4 separate regions of the Homo sapiens genome follow, and regions 1, 3 and 4 are each linked to region 2. Evidence: promoter capture Hi-C in 16 types of primary human blood cells and fetal thymus (Javierre and others, 2016). All regions are on one chromosome and are shown on one strand. Each heading gives the region's core, a stretch centred on a gene start or on the middle of the fragment in contact. The rest is flanking DNA. Distances are from core to core; before and after follow the strand shown.

What was found. Contacts are between HindIII fragments. The CHiCAGO score rates a contact against its expected background, and 5 or more counts as called.
Region 1: a contact is called between a fragment that was not itself captured here and the fragment with the promoter of EXOG in region 2, in 4 of 17 cell types (total B cells, naive CD4 T cells, activated CD4 T cells and 1 more). The highest score is 7.6, in total B cells.
Region 3: a contact is called between the fragment with the promoter of WDR48 here and the fragment with the promoter of EXOG in region 2, in 2 of 17 cell types (naive CD8 T cells and naive CD4 T cells). The highest score is 6.6, in naive CD8 T cells.
Region 4: a contact is called between a fragment that was not itself captured here and the fragment with the promoter of EXOG in region 2, in 1 of 17 cell types (neutrophils). The highest score is 5.7, in neutrophils.

The regions. Positions count from the first base shown.
Region 1 is chr3:37,970,940-37,976,078 of GRCh38, forward strand. It overlaps CTDSPL (CTD small phosphatase like), which reads left to right. Exons shown (of 8, transcript NM_001008392.2): 6 at 468-560; 7 at 4,770-4,955. Among named protein-coding and RNA genes, the nearest start is that of MIR26A1, 4.1 kb to the left of the region's middle. The HindIII fragment of the contact is 1,272 bases long and covers 1,612-2,883 here.
Region 2 is chr3:38,493,390-38,498,492 of GRCh38, forward strand. It overlaps EXOG (exo/endonuclease G), which reads left to right and starts at 2,951. Exons shown (of 6, transcript NM_005107.4): 1 at 2,951-3,141; 2 at 4,240-4,389. The coding sequence starts at 2,979. RefSeq lists enhancers at 3,100-3,149, 3,210-3,279. The HindIII fragment of the contact is 8,358 bases long and covers 1-5,103 here.
Region 3 is chr3:39,048,856-39,054,096 of GRCh38, forward strand. WDR48 (WD repeat domain 48) reads left to right here and starts at 3,161. Exons shown (of 19, transcript NM_020839.4): 1 at 3,161-3,218. The coding sequence starts at 3,171. SCN11A (sodium voltage-gated channel alpha subunit 11) reads right to left here and starts at 3,089. Exons shown (of 30, transcript NM_001349253.2): 1 at 3,006-3,089. RefSeq lists enhancers at 2,322-3,194, 2,865-2,954, 2,965-3,014, 3,035-3,224 and a silencer at 3,265-3,364. The HindIII fragment of the contact is 5,994 bases long and covers 1,688-5,241 here.
Region 4 is chr3:37,938,873-37,943,442 of GRCh38, forward strand. All of the region lies in intron 1 of CTDSPL (CTD small phosphatase like), which reads left to right. Among named protein-coding and RNA genes, the nearest start is that of MIR26A1, 28 kb to the right of the region's middle. The HindIII fragment of the contact is 362 bases long and covers 3,085-3,446 here.

The DNA.
Region 1 (5,139 bases), core at 998-3,497, 520 kb before region 2:
AGAACAGAAGGTGGCAGCCGGAGCAATCCCAGACCTGCTGGGCAATATGCTGGGCCTGGACCTCTGAAAGGACAACACCCAGACCGTGGCCCGTGCCCACACAGGTCCTGACCCTCAGCAGGTGCCAAGAAACACACGTGAAATGAATGAGTCATTACACACAAACATGGTACAACCCTTCCATTTGCTGGCCCTGAATATCCCCAAGACCCTCACACCATGGTCAGCTTCTCTTTTTCCCTTAGGAGGGGCGTCTGCAGTGAACTCAGACCTGGAGCCCTGTCTGAGGAGTGCCACGTCTGACTCCATAGCCCCTCATACAGTCTAGGCCTCTGCCTGCTATGCATAGACCTGGGGGAGGGAGGCAGGAACCTTTGTAGCAATTCTTCCTACAGTGGGCATTTGGGCCCCAGGCCATCCCCAGCAACTGCCACATCTGACCAGCCTGCTGTCTCCTGCCATTGCAGGTGTATGTGCTGAAGCGGCCACATGTGGACGAGTTCCTCCAGAGGATGGGGCAGCTTTTTGAATGTGTGCTCTTTACTGCCAGCTTGGCCAAGGTGAGTCCTGCTTCCCAGCCCCACACTCCCAGCCTGGTACTCCCAGCCCCTCCACCCCTACCCCCAATCTGTCAAGCAGCCCTTTGTTTTGGTGGGGGAAGCCATTTCTATGGTGACAGGTTCCCACCCCAGATGGGATGGATGCAGGCCATGTGCATGGTGCCAGTCTGAAAGCCTTCTGGGTTACCATGGTGACAGGGAGCACTTAGAACAAATGCTCCATGAAGTTGCTGTGTGCAGCCACCTGAAGCTGGGTGTCCACAGTCCAGAGAATCACAAACAGGTCCAGTGTAATGGACAAAGGATGGTGTACCCCTCAACCATTGACTGTCAGCCAACTGCTAGAGGCCCCTGTGTCCTTGGGTTTTGCTTTCACAGATTTGAGGGAGAAGCAAGTGAGAGATAAGTGTTGGACACTCACCCACATGCTTGGGCTGAATGAGAGTTCCAACTGCCCTAATGAGCTGTATGATCTGAGGCAAGTTACTTCACTTCTCATGTCAGTTTCTTCTATAAATTGGGGATAATTCCAGCTACCTTGTGGCTAGATCACATGAAATAACATATGTAAAGGACTTAGCACAGTGTCTGGCTCACATACAGCAAGTATTCATTGAGCACTTGCTGTGTTCCACATACTGTGCTGGGCATTGTCACATGATAAGCACTCCTGATGTTCATTATTTTGTGTTACAATTATTTGTTGATGATGATAGGCCGGGCGCGGTTGCTCATGCCTGTAATCCCAACACTTTGGGAGGCCAAGGAGGGCGTATCACCTGAGGTCAGGAGTTCAAGACCAACCTGGCCAACATGGTGAAATCCCGTCTCAAAATACAAAAATTAACTGGGCATGGTGGCGGGCATCTGTAATCCCAGCTACTCGGGAGGCTGAGGCACGAGAATTGCTTGAACCCAGAAGGCAGAGGTTGCAGTGAGCCAAGATCATGCCACTGCACTCCACCCTGGGCGACAGTGACTCCGTCTCAAAAATATATATACATATATTTATTGGTGATGATAAAATCATTCAGACATATCTTGATCCTAAAGCTTGATATGAATCTGACCTAAAATCTACACTGGCTCTGATCAAATAGAATGGTTTCTTTGTCCTCTCCACTGTTTAAGGAAACTAGCAGGTTCCCAAGCCTCCCAGTATGGTTTAGTCTCCCCCTTCACAGGTGTGGCAGGGTGCCTGTGCTGTGTGGGGCAGGCAGGGTAGGCCTTGCTTCTCCCAGGAGATCTTTGCCTTGACCATTTCCCAAACTCTGACTCTGATGGGGCTGACACCATCCATTTGTTGGTAGCACCACAGTTGTCTCCATGGGCATCTCAGGGACCCTGAGTGGTCCCAAAGATGAGTTTTCTGGGGCCCAGGTTAACCATTTGCCTGTCTCCAGGACATCACACAGTAGCTTCCTCCGCCATGTCCTGCTTCTGGACGGTGCCCTGATGCCCATACTCCCTTCTCTTCCTCTGCATGTTCCACTGCTTTGCTGGCCTGGCCATTGCTGGTTGGGTCCATCTCTGTGATGATTGAGGGGCGGGAGAGCCCCACTTGCACAAATGCTGCCAGACTTATCACCAGGCCTTAGAGCATGAACCAGTGGAGTGGGATTCAAAATCCTCGTCCTTATTTTTGCATTTCAAAAAGAGAACAAGGCCTCAGGGAAAATAGAGTCTTCCCCAGTGGGTAATCTTTCAGATGAGTGGTACCAAGATTAATTGTTATCTGTAGCATCAGTGGCTCTTCCAACAGTGCTCTGGGATGCTGAAGGGCCTGAAGTAATAACCAAAGAAATAAACAAGAAGATTGCACCAATAGCAGTGAAGTGAGAGCTGTTTTTTGTTTGGGAAAATTGAGAACACTCTTCCTTGGCATTGTCCCCAGCATTTGCTTAAACATCCTTGTTCGGTTACTCTTCCTGGATGGCTCCCACCTGCCCCACCATCTGTCTCTTCAACCCTTCTCTTGCTGCTACTCCAGCCTTGCTGAGCCGAATCAGCTCCCACGTGCAGCCTTCCACCCTCTTTCCTCGCTGAGGTACATGTCCTGCTGATGGGTGGTCATGCCCCTGTCCTTGGCTCTGGACTCGGCTTCCAGCCAGCAGTAGTGGTGCAGTGGACCTCCTTGCCTGCTGCCCAGGAGCCCGCAGGAACCTCAAGCTGACTGTCGTAGCCTTTCAGTATCTGCTTCATTGTCATTCCTTCCTTCATTCACCCAGCAAATATTTACTTAGTACCTATTGTGTGCCAGGCACAGTACTAAATACTGGGGATATAGCAAAGAAAAAAAGAGACAAAGTCCCTCCCCTTGTGAAGCTTACATTCTTCACATTCATTCTCTAAGGCCTGGAGGCCTCAGACTCAGACACTCTTGAAAGATAGGTGCTACCACAAGTGTTCATGATTATGAGGAAATAGATCATCTTTTTCCATTTAGAGCAAGCTTGTCCAGCCTGTGACCCACAGGGCGCGTGCAGCCCAGGACAGCTTTAGACGTGGCCCAACACAAATTCGTAAACTTTCTTAAAACGTTAGGAGATTTTTTTTAAAGCTCATCAGCTATTGTTAGTGATAGTGTATTTTATGTGTGGCCCAAGACAATTCTTCTTCCAATGTGGCCCAGGGAAGCCGAAAGATGGGATACCCCTGATCTGGACTCAGTTGCCTACAACCCACCCACGTGGCCCCTGGTTAGCCTCACCAGCAGATGACTGTAGTGCCCTGAGCTCTCACCTCCCTTGGCCAGTAGGAAACACAGCTGCTCCTGGACTCTGCCTCCTACAGGATGTCCTTGGAGAGGAGAGGATGTTCCCACGGAATCATAGCTGCTGCTTGCAGCTTTGCAGCCCACGTCCCACAGCTGTGCTGGCACTTGCTCTGCACTCCACTACTGGCCTTCCCAGCGCCACCAGCCACAGGTGCTCTCTGCCTCCCTGGCAGAGTCACTGGGTCCCGCTGATGCCTGGTTGTACCCCTTACTTGGTCTTGGTGCAGGGGCCTGGCCTCGTGTCAGGCTTGGCAACTGCTCCTGTTTCTTCCAGGCCTAGCCACTCAGTATGGCCCACTCTTTTAGGTATCTTCAGTTATGAGGATTTTCTCTCAGAAACCCCTTTATTTCTTTCTCCAAGCCTGCTTTGGGGGAAATTTCCTAGGTCATGAGAGAGGGCCAGGCAGGATGATCCGCAACTGTGAGCTGGGCTCAAACTCCCATCCAGCTCCTGGGCTTCAAGGAAGTGGATGGGCATCTATGGGAGTGGACGGCTGGGCACCATCCTGTCACTCAGGGGCTGGTCTGGCCCAAGTGCCCAGAGGACCTCTAGGGGGCAGTGTCATGCCATTCAAGACACATTGGAGCCAGCTCATTCATTCAGTGGTGAAATTCATGTTTACTGAGCCCCTCTTGTGGTAGATACTCTGGGAGGTGCTAGGGATGTGGTGGTGGGGATGTTTCAGGCCTGGGCCCTGACAAGGAGAGAGGAAATCAAGCAATCCCACATAGTACTCCACTCTGTGAGGGAAACAACCCAGAAAGGAAGATAGATGTGGCTCTAGGTGGATGGGAGAGGAAGTCAAGACCTGAAAAACCAGGAGACAGATGTTCTGCAAAGAGCTGGGGAGAGAATGCATGCAGAGGGAACACTGGTACAAAGGTCCTGACCATACTCAAAGCCAGTGTGGCTCCAGGGGCTCCAGATGGAGCTCATTCAGCTGTGCCATGTGGGACGCAGCAGTGAGGAACGTGGGCCTTACTCCAAGTGCGGTGTGTAGACAGTGGAGAGTTTTCAGCAGAGGAGTGACATGATGGCACATATGTTTTCCAGTGGCCACTCTGACAGCTTCTAGGTGAATGGGCTAGAAAGGAGGCCCCGTGGGAAAGACAGGTTTTTCACGAGGCTCACACAGCCATCCCAGGCCAGAGATTCGAGGCCCAGGCTAAGGGTGGTGGCAATATAAATAGATGCAAATGGAGTCAGGCTATCTTTGGAGATGAAACTGACAATTCCTGATGGTTGGATGTGAGAGAAATGGAAGAATCCAGTGCCATCTTATGTACACGGAGAGGAAAATAACCAGGATCCTAAGACACATCTAATTATTAAATCCATTTTTAAAAAACGTAATCTGGATCTTGCTGCTGTAGTTCAGGGTTTGGGGGGCTCTTTTAAACACCCAGCCTTCATTGTGACACGTCTTTTCCAGTATGCAGACCCTGTGGCTGACCTCCTAGACCGCTGGGGTGTGTTCCGGGCCCGGCTCTTCAGAGAATCATGTGTTTTTCATCGTGGGAACTACGTGAAGGACCTGAGTCGCCTTGGGCGGGAGCTGAGCAAAGTGATCATTGTTGACAATTCCCCTGCCTCATACATCTTCCATCCTGAGAATGCAGTAAGTGGCCCCAAAGAAAGAAAATGTCGTGCTCCATCTGAGCCCTCTGTCTTGCCAGGCAGGTACCACTTTTGAGCACCTACACAAGAAGGTCTCTGGGCCTTTTCCTAATGAAATCCCAGCTCTGCCATTTAGCAGTTGCGTGTCATTGACCAAGTTATTTAACCTCACTGAGCCTCGGTTG
Region 2 (5,103 bases), core at 1,701-4,200:
GGACCATTCTCCTGAACGAACTGTTCTGGGATTTTGAGTAAGTTTCTGCAGGTTAGCATATTTTCCAAATGTCCAAGACACTCCCCATTCCCTCATCCTCTGCCACCAGTCCTGTACTTTGCAGACAACCCTGAGCAATATTGTTGTAAGTGGAGCAGAGAAGCCTTGAAAATAGTTGTATTCAGGACTATTGCAGATGACAAACTCTGTCATTCCCAAACGTTGCTGAGTACTGGAGTCATTTGCGGAGCTATTAAAAAATACAATTATGGGTCCTTATCCCCAACCTGGAATTAGCAAACCAGGTCTCCAGTTTCAGAGATTTGGACTTAATCTCACTAAAGGAACTCATGGTTCCCCAATAATAAAATAATGATAGTCTTTAATACCTAACAAAACAGGAAGGCCCCAGAAATCACCTCACTGCTTTCTGCAGTAACAAGTTTTTTTGGTCGATGACTCTTTCTTGCCTAAGTGGAGAAACACCCTTTAAATTCACCCTTTATTATGAGAATTAAGCAACGGTTTGAAACTTGTGGAGAAAGTTTTTGATGACCCTTTATTCAGGGACCAGTTGCCCAATATTTGGCTGTTTTTGCTCTTTCACGTTTAGAAAGTTCACCTTTTATTAGTGAGTGCCTCTAATGAAGGAAGGAGAGCAAAGGGCTGACATTTTTGATACAGGATCTTGGAGCTGGAAAAGCTGAAAGGTTGGACCTTAGGAGTCATCTGGTCAAACTTTCCCTATAGCAAAGGAATTCTTTGACCAAAGAAATTTGACACAGAAGTTGGTTTATAAAACCAGGCTTGTCTGAATGAGCAAGTAGAAGAGGGCCAAGGGACCATTTCACTTACCCTCCCATCCCTTCCTTTAAGTCTCAGGTATCCCTATGGAACACCTAGGAACCTTGATTAAAGTTTACAAATCACTGGCCCAATTCCAATTTTACAGGTGGGCAAACAGGCCCAGAGGGAGTTTTCCTACCCTGAGGCAGGCAACCCTTCCAGTTCTTGACCTCTTGGGACCAAAAGTGGGGTTACACTTGTTCAGAAGTAGAGGATCTGGATTAGGAAAAGCCATCTAATATTTATCTCTCTAGTATTTAGCACAGTGTCTGGCACTTACAAGGGCCTTAAGAAATACAGTACCTCAGTGATTGTGTATTTAGTAAATTCTGGGGAAAGCTGCTGAAGTAGCCTTGAAGCCTACAGATACCAGTGTTGTCTGGTTGTATTTGTTAGGATTCTTGGTTGCAGGTGACAGAAGCCATTAGACAAAAAAGGGGGTTTCACTGAAAGGATTCTGGGGGAAATGACTAGCCAAGACTTCAGAAAGGCAGGATGTATGTGGGCTTCAGGAGCCTGTGGGAGTTGGGGTCATAACATTGCAGGCCTCCACCTGTGTCCTGGTATTTCTTCCATTATTGCTCAGAGCAAGACCAGATGCATCTGCTCCTTTGACTTCTTAGCAGGAAACAAGGCTGTAGACAGTGCCAGAGCTTTTTTTTTTTTTTTTAGACAGAGTCTTGCTCTATTGCCCAGATTGGAGTGCAGTGGCACGATCTCAGCTCACTGCAACCTCCGTCTCCTGGGTTCAAGCAATTCTGCCTCAGCCTTTCGAGTAGCTGGGATTACAGGCACGCGCCACCACACCTGGTTGATTTTTGTATTGTTAGTAGAGACGGGGTTTCACCATGTTGGCCAGGCTGGTCTCAAATTCCTGACCTCAGGTGATCCTCCAGTCTTGGCCTCCCGAAGTGCTGGGATTGCAGGCATGAGCCACTGCGCCTGTGAGTTTTACGTCACAGCTTTGCTACCCAGAGAGACTACTAGATCGAAAATCCCTAGGAAGGACTCTGGTTGATGTAGCTTAACCAGTCAGGGTCCTTCAGAAGAGGTATTCCTGGCAAGGGGGTAGCCTCCCATTTGAGGCTGTCAAAATAATGTGCACACTTCAGTAGGTTGTTAGAAGTGGCCTCCTGGTCAGTGAATCATCAGTGGGATCAGATGAAAGTTATTCCTACCAGTTATCTAAGAAATAGGAAACTTGAAGTTTCTGCTAAGAACTAAGTCCACACGGAATGCTAGAGATCATGCTGCAAAATGAAGACTCATTTGTTTGTGAGTGGTAGTCCATGAAATCTATCCTTTCTTTGCCAGCAGGCGTTCAGCAATCTGGATTTTATATTCTATCAAGACAAAGAGTAGAGATGACTCAAACATTTCTAACATTTATAGAGCACTTAGTGACATGCCCCTGGTACTTCCCTAAACATTTTACATGTGTCATCTCCTTTAATCCTCACAAGAACGCTATGGTCTAAGTATTATTATTCCAATTTAAAAGAGAAGGTTGGGGACAGTGACACACACCTGGACTTACAGCACTTTGGGAGGCCGAGGCGGGAAGATTGCTTGAGGCCAGAAGTTGGATACCAGCCTGGGCAACATAAGGAGACCCCCTTCTTTACCGCTCCCCCACTCCCGCCAAAAATTTAGCCGGGCAATGTGGCACGTGCCTGTAGTCCCAGCTACTCAGGAGGCTGAGGCAGGAGGATCGCTTGAGCCCACGAGTTCGAGATCGCAGTAAGCTATGATCATTCCACTGTACTGCAGCCTGGGTAACAGAGACCCTGTCGCTAAATAAATAAATAGACCTGAGTTGGAATATCGGCTCTGGAGACCTTAGTGTAACCATGCGCAAGTGTTTACTCACCTATTAAATGAGACTAAAGGTATTTTCTTCTCATGACTATATATAGCATACCACTAAGCCCTCTAGACATCATATTCCCCATCCATCGCCCCGTCCAGTGGACCAGGGATGAAGCGGGGATGCGCTAGGCATCCCGGTTTGTCACCAGGGGGCGTGCGAGGCCCTCAGCTTGGCGGGCGGTGAGGCGTGGGGTGACGGGGGGATGGCGGGGGCCGGCATGCGCGCGCATGCGCCGTGGTAAAAGGCCGGTACCTCGGGCAAGATGGCTATCAAGAGTATCGCTTCCCGCCTCCGGGGTTCCCGTCGTTTTCTGAGCGGCTTCGTGGCTGGGGCTGTAGTGGGCGCTGCGGGAGCTGGGCTCGCGGCCCTGCAGTTCTTCCGGAGTCAGGGCGCTGAGGGAGCGTTGACAGGGAAGCAGCCGGATGGTAAGTCTGTGGGCCCGTCCTCCCTTCGCTGGCCCAGATTTCGGGCTCCGACTCCTACCTGGAGTGTGAATGGCAGTCCTTGACGGACAGCCTTCACCGTTTGCTGGGCCCCTAGCCTGGCCCTTGGTTTCTGACCTTTATTCTCCCGGCTCGGCCTCCCTTCCCCACCTCGCGTCTCGCCAGCTTCCCTCATGTCCTTCCTTCCCCCGGGCATCTTCGTTTTCTGCACAGAACCACCCCCGCCGCCCGACTTTCTTCCCCCCAGTTACTCATCGCGATATCTATGTTTTAATGTCTGTGTTCTCTACTAAGATTGTTAGCTCCATAAGACTTGAGACTATGTCTGTTTTGGTCTCCATCATCTAACCAGCACAGTACCTGGTACATAATTGGCATTCAGTAAGTATGAATGAAGGAATAAATTAATACATAATTTTAGTAGATGAGTTAACTGCCCTTCTTTCGTCATTGTTCAGTTGAAGAATACCTGCTATCCCTCCAAAGTGTATAAAAACTCATGTTGCAATGGGTACCTTATATTTGACAAAAAAAAAAAAAAAATTAACACGAGCTCATTTCTTGTACTTTGCGGATGTGCTAATTTAACTTGCTCCTTTGGATACTTGGCATCTAGCAAGAGAACTACCCCCTTGGGGGGTTGAGGATTTGAGAAGGCATCGGGGAGGATTATCTCGAAACTGACTCACTGCTGAATGTGTGCTTGGTTTCTCCCACTAGGAAAAACAGTACCAGTTTTACTGTCATCTTGCAACAGCACACATATCAGTGCTTCAGAGATGATTTGGAAATTTGATGTGAAAGACTAATAAGATCAAGTCTTTATTCAAAAGTTAATGCAGTAGCTGCATTTTATTCACTGATTATAGGCAAATCAGTACTTTGCCTACTGTCTGTTTTCTTCATCTCATAAGTAATTGCAAAAATGAGATTTTCTGGTTGATTAGACTTCTGAGCCAGTCCTTTGTAAATCACACCGCTCTCCTTTTCCTTATAATCTTTCATTATTAAGAGCCACTAATTGTGTGTGTGTGTTTTTTTTGTCTCTGCCCCCCCTTTTTTTTTTTTTTTCATTTTTAGGATCTGCAGAAAAGGCTGTCTTGGAACAATTTGGATTCCCTTTAACTGGAACAGAGGCAAGGTGTTACACTAATCACGCTTTGTCTTATGATCAGGCAAAGCGGGTGCCTAGATGGGTTCTTGAACATATTTCCAAAAGCAAGATAATGGGTAGGTGGTTGGATAAAAAAACTGAAGTAACAGTATTTATGAAAGATGTCTCCAAATTTAAAACAGGGATGATTATTAATATTCTCAACCTTTTTCATATCATAGCACATGTAGAAAATTATATTTATATAACTTACTGGTTAAATCAACCCTGCCTGGCAGCCAGAAAGCCAGACCCTTTCCAGCTGTCTCAGGGCTGAAAATACCCATATCTTGACACACTAGTTGGGAGGCTCTGTCATAAATATTACAGCAATGAGCACCATTCAGTTTTACCTTAACAAATATTTATGTGCCTGCTATGTGTCTGGCACTGTGGTAACCCTTGGGGACCTATGTGTGACCAGAGTAGAGGATCTCTACCCCAGTGACACTTTGAGTTGGGAGAGTGGGTTGACCCATCAAACAAATAATTTTAGATGTATAATTACAATAATTTTTCCAAAGGAGGTGATTGCAAGTTAGTGTAGTATAATTAAGGAACAGTAAAAAGTTTGATGAGAGGCTGGGCGTGGTGGCTCACACCTGTAATCCCAGTACTTTGGGAGGCTGAGGCGTTTGAGCTCAGGAGTTTGAGATGAGCCTGGCCAACATGGCAAAACCGCGTTTCTACAAAAAATACAAAAATTAGCTGGGCGTGGTGGTGCACCTCTGTGGTTCCAGCTACTTGGGGGACTGAGATGGGAGGATCTCTTGAGCCCAGGAGGTGGGGGT
Region 3 (5,241 bases), core at 1,911-4,410, 560 kb after region 2:
GTGGAAAGATCATGAGAAGGTGTTCTAGCCACAGCTTTGGCTAAGGACTAGGCCAACACCAGTATCAGTCACCAGACATGTGAGAGAAGGGGTCTTCAGATGATTCCAGCCCCAATCTTTTAGCTGCCCCAGCTGATGTGAAGTGGATAGTGGAACAGAGACAATCTGTTCCCATGAAGCTCTGCATAAATTACAGATTTGTAAGTAAAGTAAGGGTTGTAATTGTTTTAAACCATTGCATTTTGCAGATGGTTAAACAGCAATAGATAAAAGGAACAGGAAAAAAGAGTGCTGAATATTGGACAGTAGTTCAGAGCATATACTGCATCCTACAGGACAGTATCAAAAAGGGTTATCTCCCAGAAGGCACCATAGCTAAGTCTTCAATATATCTTCAATAAGACAAGATACTTCTCAGTGATTGAGTACACAATTAGACCAATAAATTCCATGGGCAATAGCCCATTGCATTACTTCTTTCATTGCAGAGTGAATTTCTTGGTCAAAAGCAATATAGTGTTAGAGAAAATGATAGTGTCTAAAGCACTGAGTAATTCCCTAGATGGTGGTGTCAGCGGAAGTACAGTGAGCAGGGAAAGCAAATCTCAATCTAGAATAAACATATTTTAGAGAGGACAAATAAGAACTCCCTCAATGATGGGGAGGGCCAATGACCAATGGAATAGACTTGCCTACATGTGACTGGCTGACCCTCCCAGAGCATGGGGTATTGGTCACTGCTTCTGAACACCCAGCGGTGGCTTGGTGATCCCATGCATAGCTCCAATCCTGTTGCCATTGCCATTGCCATTTATTTCATGATTCTACTGAGCAGGCAGTGAGGCTGAGTTTCATCACAAAGCAGTTCATTTCATCCATATGATTCTTAAGATTTATTCTGAGAGGTCCATCACTATATCCCTTCTGGAGTCTTCCTTGTCACTAGTTCTCCAGTCTTGCTCTTTCCATGTCCTTCACAAACTGGCCAAAAAATTATCCTCTGACCCTGAATTGACCATTTCTCCTTTCAGCCAAACTGAACATCAAAACATACTGGTGAAAATTCTGCCCACTGAAAGAACTTCACTATTTCAATATTTTTCAGGTCCAAAGCAGGACTACAACATATCAATTTCTAGCAAGTACCAGTATATTGTCCAGAGCAACATACCTGTATTGTATTTTGCACATCATAGGTGCTCAATAGACACTTAAGCAATTTTTAAAATACAGACATATTATTTCCCTACCTGTATTTCAACAGCTTCCCATTGGTCTAAAAGATCCTGCTGGGTATGGCCTCTGCATACTCCTTTCACTTCTCTGTACTCTAAGCCTTGACTCTCAGTTCCTGTAATGTTCCATGCTCTCTCCTGCTACAAGACCTTTGCTCAGACTGTTCCCTCTCCTTGCCTAGTTAACTCTTGACTCAAGATACTTCCTGTCTTACAATCATCTTTCTTCATAGTACTTATCTCTGTATTAATTCCTGTCTCATCCTGGGACTCTAAGTTCTATGACTATGTGCACTCACCACTGATTCCCCAACACCTAATATAGTGCCTGGCATATATGATATGCTAAATAATATTTTGTTAAATGAATGAATACATGAATCAGTGAATGAATAAGCCTGTAATGATGCAGTAATTTACCTATAAGTTATCACTGCCAGTTTTGCTTAAGAAGCTTTCTGCCATCACAATTTTTACTCATCTAATTCACATTTCTTTATTAATTTAAGAAGTATTTGTCAAGACAACTTTTCTAAGCATTACTTATATACTAGCACTATGCAACAGAAATTTGTGACCACATATGTAATTTTAAATATTCTAATATCCATGACAAAATTAATAAATTTTATTTAGCCTAATATACCCCCAAACATCATTTCAACATGAAATCAATACAAAAAATTATTAATGAGATATTTTACATTCTTTTCTTCAAACTAGTCTTTGAAATTTGGGGGTAGTTTACAATTACATATCTCAACTGGAACTAGCTATATTTCAAGTGCTCAAGAGCCACAAATGACTAGCAGATACATCATATGCTATATCCCACAGTGTAGTTCTATAGGATTCACTTTCACTAGAGAGGGTCTGATCACCCTCAGCTCTTATAATTAGTGGTCAGGAAAACCACCTTAAGTCAAACCTAACTGTTCCAGTATAAGAGATGATTTAAACTAGAATTGTCTCTGGGAACAATTTTAGCTGGTGTACCGTTTTCGCCTTCCTATAACATCTTTTTGTCTTGTTTTTTTTTTTTAAACTTTTAAGTTCAGGGGTACAAGTGCAGGTTTGTTATATAGGTAAACTTGTGTCACGGGTGTTTGTTGTACAGGCTATTTTGTCACCCAGGTATTAAGCCTAGTACCCATTAGTTATTTTTCCTGATCCTCGCCCTCCTCCCACCCTCCACCCTCCGAAAGGCCCCAGTGTGTGTTGTCCCCCTCTTTTGTGTCCATGTGTTCTCATCATTTAGCTCCCACTTATAAGTGAGAACGTGCGGTATTTGGTTTTCTGTTCCTTTGTTAGTTTGCTTAAGGATAAGGGCCTCCAGCTCCATCATGTCCCTACAAAGGACATGATCTCGTTCTTTTATGGCCCCACTTTTTATCCTTTTAATTTAAACGGATTCTTTGCTCCCCCTGAAGATGGAGGCCACCTCCTTTGCAAGGACTTCTATCTCTCCCCCTTTGAGGCCACGACATAATTCTCCGCATTTTTAGGTACTTAACAGTAAATCACTTGGTTCACTTGGTTCTCCTGCCTGCCTAGGAAAGGTCAGGAGATGGTCCAGCGCCATGTCTAGCACTGTTAATTCTTTCAGTGCTTTCGTTTTGCTTGGGCCTCTCGGGGAGGGCGCGGAAAAGAGCGCAAGCCAGGGTCTAGGACCACACAAGTGAATTCGTGTTGCTCCCTCAGCCCTGAAAAGTGGCTCTCTCCCCATCAGCATTATACTTGCACAGTGGTTTTGTTTTTAGGTGCATCTACCTCATCACATGGCTACCGGCCACACAGCAACTAACAGCACCGAGGAAACACAACAGCCTGTTTACCTTCAGCCCCGCCACTAACCCTTGGCCAAAGGGAAAGGGGCAGGACATCCTCCCGCTCTGAGCCACCTCCGGAAGTGACGTCGGAGTGTCAACATGCAAGATGGCGGCCCATCACCGGCAGAACACAGCAGGGCGGAGGAAAGTGCAGGTATGGAAGCCCGGTTCCTCGGTCTTCCGGACGCGGCCGGCAGCTCCGGGCCCACTCCAGCTAGAAGGTGCCCGGCGCCACGACCAGCTGGGGTAGCGGCATGGGGCGAACGGGGCGGGGCGCGGCCGGCCACGAGGGGTGGGGCCGCGGCGCTAACGGCTTGAGGAAGGGGCGGGGGTCGGCTTGCTTGGCCCTTGGGGCCCAGGCCCGGGACCCTCGTGGGCGGCATTCTGAGCCCGGGATTGCTTGTCGCCGCTCTTCTGTAGGAGTGGACTTGCGGGGTCGGGATAGGCTCGTTCCCCGCCCACTTGCCTCCCCCTTGCCCTGTCTTTCTTCGAAGCGCTCTGCCCTCGCTGCGTCGGAGCCGAGGCCTCCAGGGGTTTCCCAGGGGGGTGGGCGTTGGAGGAGTGAGCGGCTTGTGCGGGGGCGTGGCGAGGCGGCGGAGCGCCAACGGCCCTGCGGGGTTTCTGCTGAGGATTCCGCACTTGGGAGCCCCCAGCCCTCTCTTATGTGGGAGCTGTCCCCTGGGTAGGTTTAAGTGACATAAGAATGTGCGTGGGGAAATTATAATTTTAATTGTTTTGGTATTTAAGTTCCTCTTCACCATTTCTTCATCTTAAGTGTGCATCGCTGAATCTGTCTTTATTGTTTGTGTAATTTATTGTCCATGTGGTAAAGAGTTGTCTAATCTTACCGTGTGTGTCTTGTGCCTTATGCCTTTGTGAATTCACTTTTGTTTGCGGTTACGCTTAAGAGTTACTGCCACTTCGGGGAACATCACACACCGGGGCCTGTCGGGGGCTGGGGGCGCTAGGGGAGGGATAGCATTAGGAGAAATACCTAATGTAAATGACGAGTTGATGGGTACAGCAAACCAGCATGGCACACGTATACCTATGTAACAAACCTGCACGTTGTGCACATATATCCTAGAACTTAAAGTATAATAATAATATTAAAAAATAGTTATTGCCACTTAATATTTTCAGTGATGCAGGGAATAAAAGCCCTCTTACAGGTGTTTGCCTGCAGGTATATTGTATGTGGTAGTGGCAGTTTGGTGCATTTATTCATTAAACATTTACCTAGCACTTAGGGTGGCCCCCAAAGGGGAAAAGGGATTGAAAGGGTGTAGAAATAATTAACACCTAGGCTTTCTTTATAAAACACAGCATTATATGGAGTTCTGCGGGTTGAAATCAAGTGTCAGATAAAGGTAGTTAGATGAAGGGGTCCTTCAGTAAGGTAATCCCAGCAGAAGGTGGTAGGCCATAAAGTCTTCTGATTAGTTCACATCTTGGTTTTATTGATCTCACTGATCAGTACAGTGTCTTAAGCACTCACTGGATGTTTGTTGAAATGAGTGAAATTAATAAGTCTAAACTCACCCTATTAGGTGTTTTTCAGTGCATTAGTGATAGGATTTAAGTATCACCAGCATCCAAGGCAGGTAGTGAGAATGTCTCCTTGGGACTGAAATATAACTCAAAAAGTAACCCGATTGTATTATAGACTCTATGGTGGTGTACATCTTAGGAGAGTAAGGGTAGTTAATCAGGCCTTTCAGTTTATTGCATTAAGACTTAAAACTCCTATTACTGCAGTGTGTTCCCTGCTTGCTTCCTTCCCAGGCCTGCCCACTCCCAAAATGCATGCAATAAAGTATATATATTTTAAAAAGACTTACAAGGCAATTGTACTAGTATGGGATGGAGAAAATGTAAATTAACTGCAGCAGGTTTGGAAAAACAGTGTTCCAATAGGCTGAATGTGAGCCAGTGCACGTAGAATGAGGCAGGTGATAGATAATTCCACTTTTCACTGGTCAAAGTACAAAATTAGAGTTTGGTGTTCAGCACTTAGGACCTTGTTCTTCATAGGTAGCAATCAGATTGGTGAACTGACTTGAAATTATTTCCTATGAAGAACTTTTGAAAGAGCTGTCTTAGATTAACCTGCTGAAGAGAAGATTCAGGGAACTTTCGGAATTTGTCCCTAAGGTATAGAAGCAGCCTGAGAAGCC
Region 4 (4,570 bases), core at 2,016-4,515, 550 kb before region 2:
ATATTTAATATGAGATTTCATAGAAAAGACCTGAGTCCTAAGGTTTGTTTTAAGCCCCACATGTGGAGCTGCTTTTTTGTTTGTTTAGTTTCTATCATCATTACTGTTATTATTATACAGAGAAAACTTTACTGGATAGGAGGTAAAGTTTTAAAGAGCTACTTAATGTTCTAAGTTTAGACTTCACATAACCAAAAACAAAATGGATCTGCCTACATGTTTTTTCATAAAGCCAGGCTGTTTTTGTGAGGACCGTTGTCTGGATACAAGCTAAATTCTCCATGTTCACAGTGAGACCCTGCACTGTACCTAAACCAGTCACAATTTTTTGTTATGTTTGAAGCTGCTGGTAGATTTTCTCTCTTACACAAACATACATGTTTTCACTGTGCCCATACAATAGTCCTGTGGGGTAGGGATTATCATTCCTGTATTATTGTTGCTACGGAGGTAGGTGAGGTCACACGGGCTAACAAGTGGCAGGGCTGGGACTTGAACCTAAATGTAATTCCAAAGCCTGTGTTCTTTCCATGTAACTTATATTTAAAGTCAATTTCTGAATAAAAAATTTCACTCTAGGCTCTTAAATGGCAACCTGTGTAATTTGCAGATATCCTGGATCTTGGCTGCATTGGTCATAATTTAAAGTTTAAACTCAGTAGTTTTAATTACAGAGCTAAGACAGTGACATTCATGGTACAAATCTGATCCCGTCACTCCCCTTTTCCATAACATCAAATCCAAACTCATCTCCATGGCTTGCAAGGCCCTTGCTGTCATTACTCCTATCTCATACTCCTTGCTACTCCTTTGATTTCTTAAATGTTTTGTGCTTTCTCTCACACCAGGCCTTTTACACATTGCTGTTTCACCTGCTCCTCCCACCACAAAAAAATTAATGAAACTTTCAGCCCAGCTTCTTTCAAGAAGGCATTTCTGGGCTGGGCACGGTGGTTCACGCCTATAATCCCCGCACTTTGGAAGGCCAAGGCAGATGGATCACAAGGTCAGGAGTTCAAGACCAGCCTGGCCAATATGGTGAAACCCCGTCTCTACTAAAAATACAAAAATTAGCCGGGCTTGGTGGCAGGCGCCTGTAGTCCCAGCTACTCAGGAGGGTGAGGCAGGAGAATCACTTGAACCCGGGAGGCAGAGGTTGCAGTGTGCCGAGATCGCACCACTGTACTCTAGCCTGGGTGACAGAGCAAGACTCCGTCTCAAAAAAAAAAGCTATTTCTATACCCCTCGCTACTCATAGTCCCCAGTCTGGGCTATGTGCTCTTCTTTGGGCACCAAGAGTGCTCTGCACTTTCCCATCCTAACAAGACTCATTGTATACCAGAAGTACATATTCAAATGTCTCTCCTGCTAGATGTGGGCTTCATGAGGTCTGACCCCTGCCTATGTTGTTGGTCAATGCTTCTGTACCACCTAGCATCAGAGCTTACATTTTGAGAGACAATCCTTTCCATTTCAAATCACATAAACCCAATTATATTGGCTTAGGAGCAAAAGAGAATTTGTTTACTTACATAACTGAAAATTCCAGAAGGGTCTGGTTTTAATAAAACCAAGTCCTCAGACAGTGTCGTCAGAAATCTGTCCTTCTTTGTAACCCAGCTCCTTTTTTCTCAGTTTTGGCTTCATGCTCAGGTAGGTATTTCTTACGAGGTGCAAAGATGACTACCAATTGCTCCAGGCTTACATCCTGCCATGTTAAGAAACCCAGCAAAAGGCAAATATCCCTTCCAATAGGGCTTGCATGAATCCTTGCAGAGTCTTTGGTCCAGGGTGGGTCACGTGCCCATCCCTAAGCCAGTCATGTGGCTCAGATTGGCCAGCCCTTGATAAAGGACAGAACATTGGTAGGGTGAGAGTGGTTCCCCAGAGGAAAATAGAGGAACTTTTACCAGAAAGAAGGGTAATGGATTCTGGCAGGCAAAAAATGTCAGATGTCCACTACACTCCCCATCTGTAACTGGTGCTTTGAAGATACGGGTTCTTGCTGCTGGGCCAGCACTCTGCCTAGAAGACCAGGGAAGCATTTGGAAGGCTTCCTGTCTTGTCTTTAGAGAGGAAGGCAGTTGTCTATATGTGTACTTTAAGCTGCCCCATTCATAGACCCTCTGTAAGCCTATTGCTGGCAGATAGGAGGTCCCCAGCCCATGGGAGGGGCAAGGGAGAAATGTGTATGAGTGGGAAACAGGGTCTTAATTTGCTGGGCTGCAGTGACACCAGGGCCAGGGGCCTAGGCAGAAGCATTAGCTCTAAGGGCATATCCAGGAAAACAGAGCCACATGCTACCCTGTTCCTCCAGTGGATACACAGGGACCATGCCCCACATCTCCAGCTCTTCACAACCCTCTCCAGGGTTTCTACTCCACCCGAGTTTGTGCACAGAAATGGAGAAAGTTAAGTCTTTAACTTCTCTACCTCATCTACCTCTATCAAGGATTTCCCTTTACTCTCCCTGTGGGGTATCTGTGCCCATGGCATCTTTGTGTGCTGGGACCGGCTATGGGCATGCTTTCTTTCTATCTTTTTTTCTTTTTTTTTTTTTTGAGACAGAGTCTCACCCTGTCACCCAGGCTGGAGTGTGGTGGCGTTATGTCAGCTCACTGCAACTTGTGCCTCGGCCTCCTGAGTAGCTGGGATTACAGGGGCCCGCCACCACACTCCGCTAATTTTTGTATTCTTAGTAGAAACAGGGTTTCGCCATGTTGTCCAGGCTGGTCTCAAACTTCTGGCCTCAGGTGATCTGCCCGCCTTGGCCTCCCCAAGTGCTGGGATACAGGAATGAGCCACCGCATTTGGGCCGGGCATGTTTTCATTGACAGGGATAAGGAGGAGAAAGAGGGTGGTCCTTCAAAGCAGGCCTGCCCCGGGCTGAGCCTTGGGAAAATGGCAGCATGTTGTAGCCTATTGGGGGACCCGGCAGGGGAGACTGCTGGGTCAGCTAGCCACCTCTGTGGTCCTCCTTGCATGGTCCTCCTCAATGCTCCTTTCTGATGTACAGCTTGAGATAAGAAGTCCCTGGAACCAGATGCAGACCCAGCAGGCAGAATGCTCTGCAGAAGAGAGCTAAGCTTCAGCCCCAGAGGGAATTAAGTAAGGGGATTGGGGAGGGAGAGTGTATGCTTCCTGACCTCCACTTGAAAGCATTGTTCTTTTCCTAAGGGAAAACAGCCCCCAGCAGAGCTCACTGGGACATGCAACCCCTCCCTTTTCCTTCCCCATGTCTATATCTAATTTTTAGAGCAATTGATTAAAATCACTTCCTGAGATTTTTCTAGTTTTGCTTTCTGAATTACAGTTTATGTAACCAAGATCTGTTATAGTGAGTTGTTTCTCCTAGTTGTCAGATAGCAGAGAAAAAAATGTACGCCCGCAGAATCCAGCCTTTGATCCAGCGTTCCTGGAGAACCCTCACTCATTTATGAAGCGAAAGCTTTTATGAGACTATAATAATAAAAGCTAAAATGTATATAGCCTGGGTGTGGTGCCTCACAACTGTAAGCCCAGCACTTCGGGAGGCCGAGGCAAGCAGATCACTTGAGCTCAGGAGTTTGAGACCTGCCTGAGTAGCATGACAAGACCCTGTCTCTACTAAAAATAGAAAAATTGGCTGGGCGTGGTGGCACATGCCTATAGTCCCAGCTACTTGGGAGACTGAGGTGGGAGGATGTCTTGAGCCCCGGGGGTAGAGGTTGCAGTGAGCCAAGACTGTACCACTGTACTCCAGCCTGGGTGACAGAGTGAGACCCTGTCTTTAAAAAACAAACAAAAATTATGGAGTGCTTGCTCTATGCTAGGCACTGTTATAAGAACTCATTTAATTCTCACAACAAACCCTAAGATGGGTATTTATTATCCCCATTTTACAGATAAAGAAACTGAGGCACAAAGAAGTCACACAACTTGCCCAGGTCCTGTACTGTTGCTGGTTGAGCCAGATTTCGCACCTAGGCAAGTTGGCATTGGAGCCCACATTCCTAACCACCACACATTTTTCTAACTTGATGGGCTTTACCTGTCATGTCAAGAATTAATTGTGGGATGCAAAATCAACAGCAGAGAGACAAGTCAAAAAGCAACTGTAGTGGACCTGAGCCAGGATAGGGCAGGGACAAGGAGTTGCTAAGGATATATTTAAGAATCGATTAGGATGTCAGAACCAACAACTTAATGAGGGAAAAGGACAGATGTCTAGCTTAGGATATTGGTACCCTGAGTGAAGAGGGGAGTGGTGAGCCCCATTTAGATATGCTGAGTCGAGGCATCCAGAGGAGATGTCCAGCAGACAGGTGGATGAACTGGCCTGGCCCAAAGACACAGCTCAGTCAGACACACGTTCATTTGGGAGTTTAGTGGCCAAAGAACAAATGATCTCCATGGGGCGGTTGGCGAAGGCTTCCTGGGTGAGGTTGGCTTTGAGCCAGGCTCTGAAGAGCAGGATGCTCTGAGAAGTGGGGAAATGGGGGGAGGAGGAGTGGGAGAAGGGATGTCAGTGTGATGAGGAGTCTACCATGGAGGAAGCTAGGGAGTAAGGTGGGCAGGTGCTGGGTTTGGA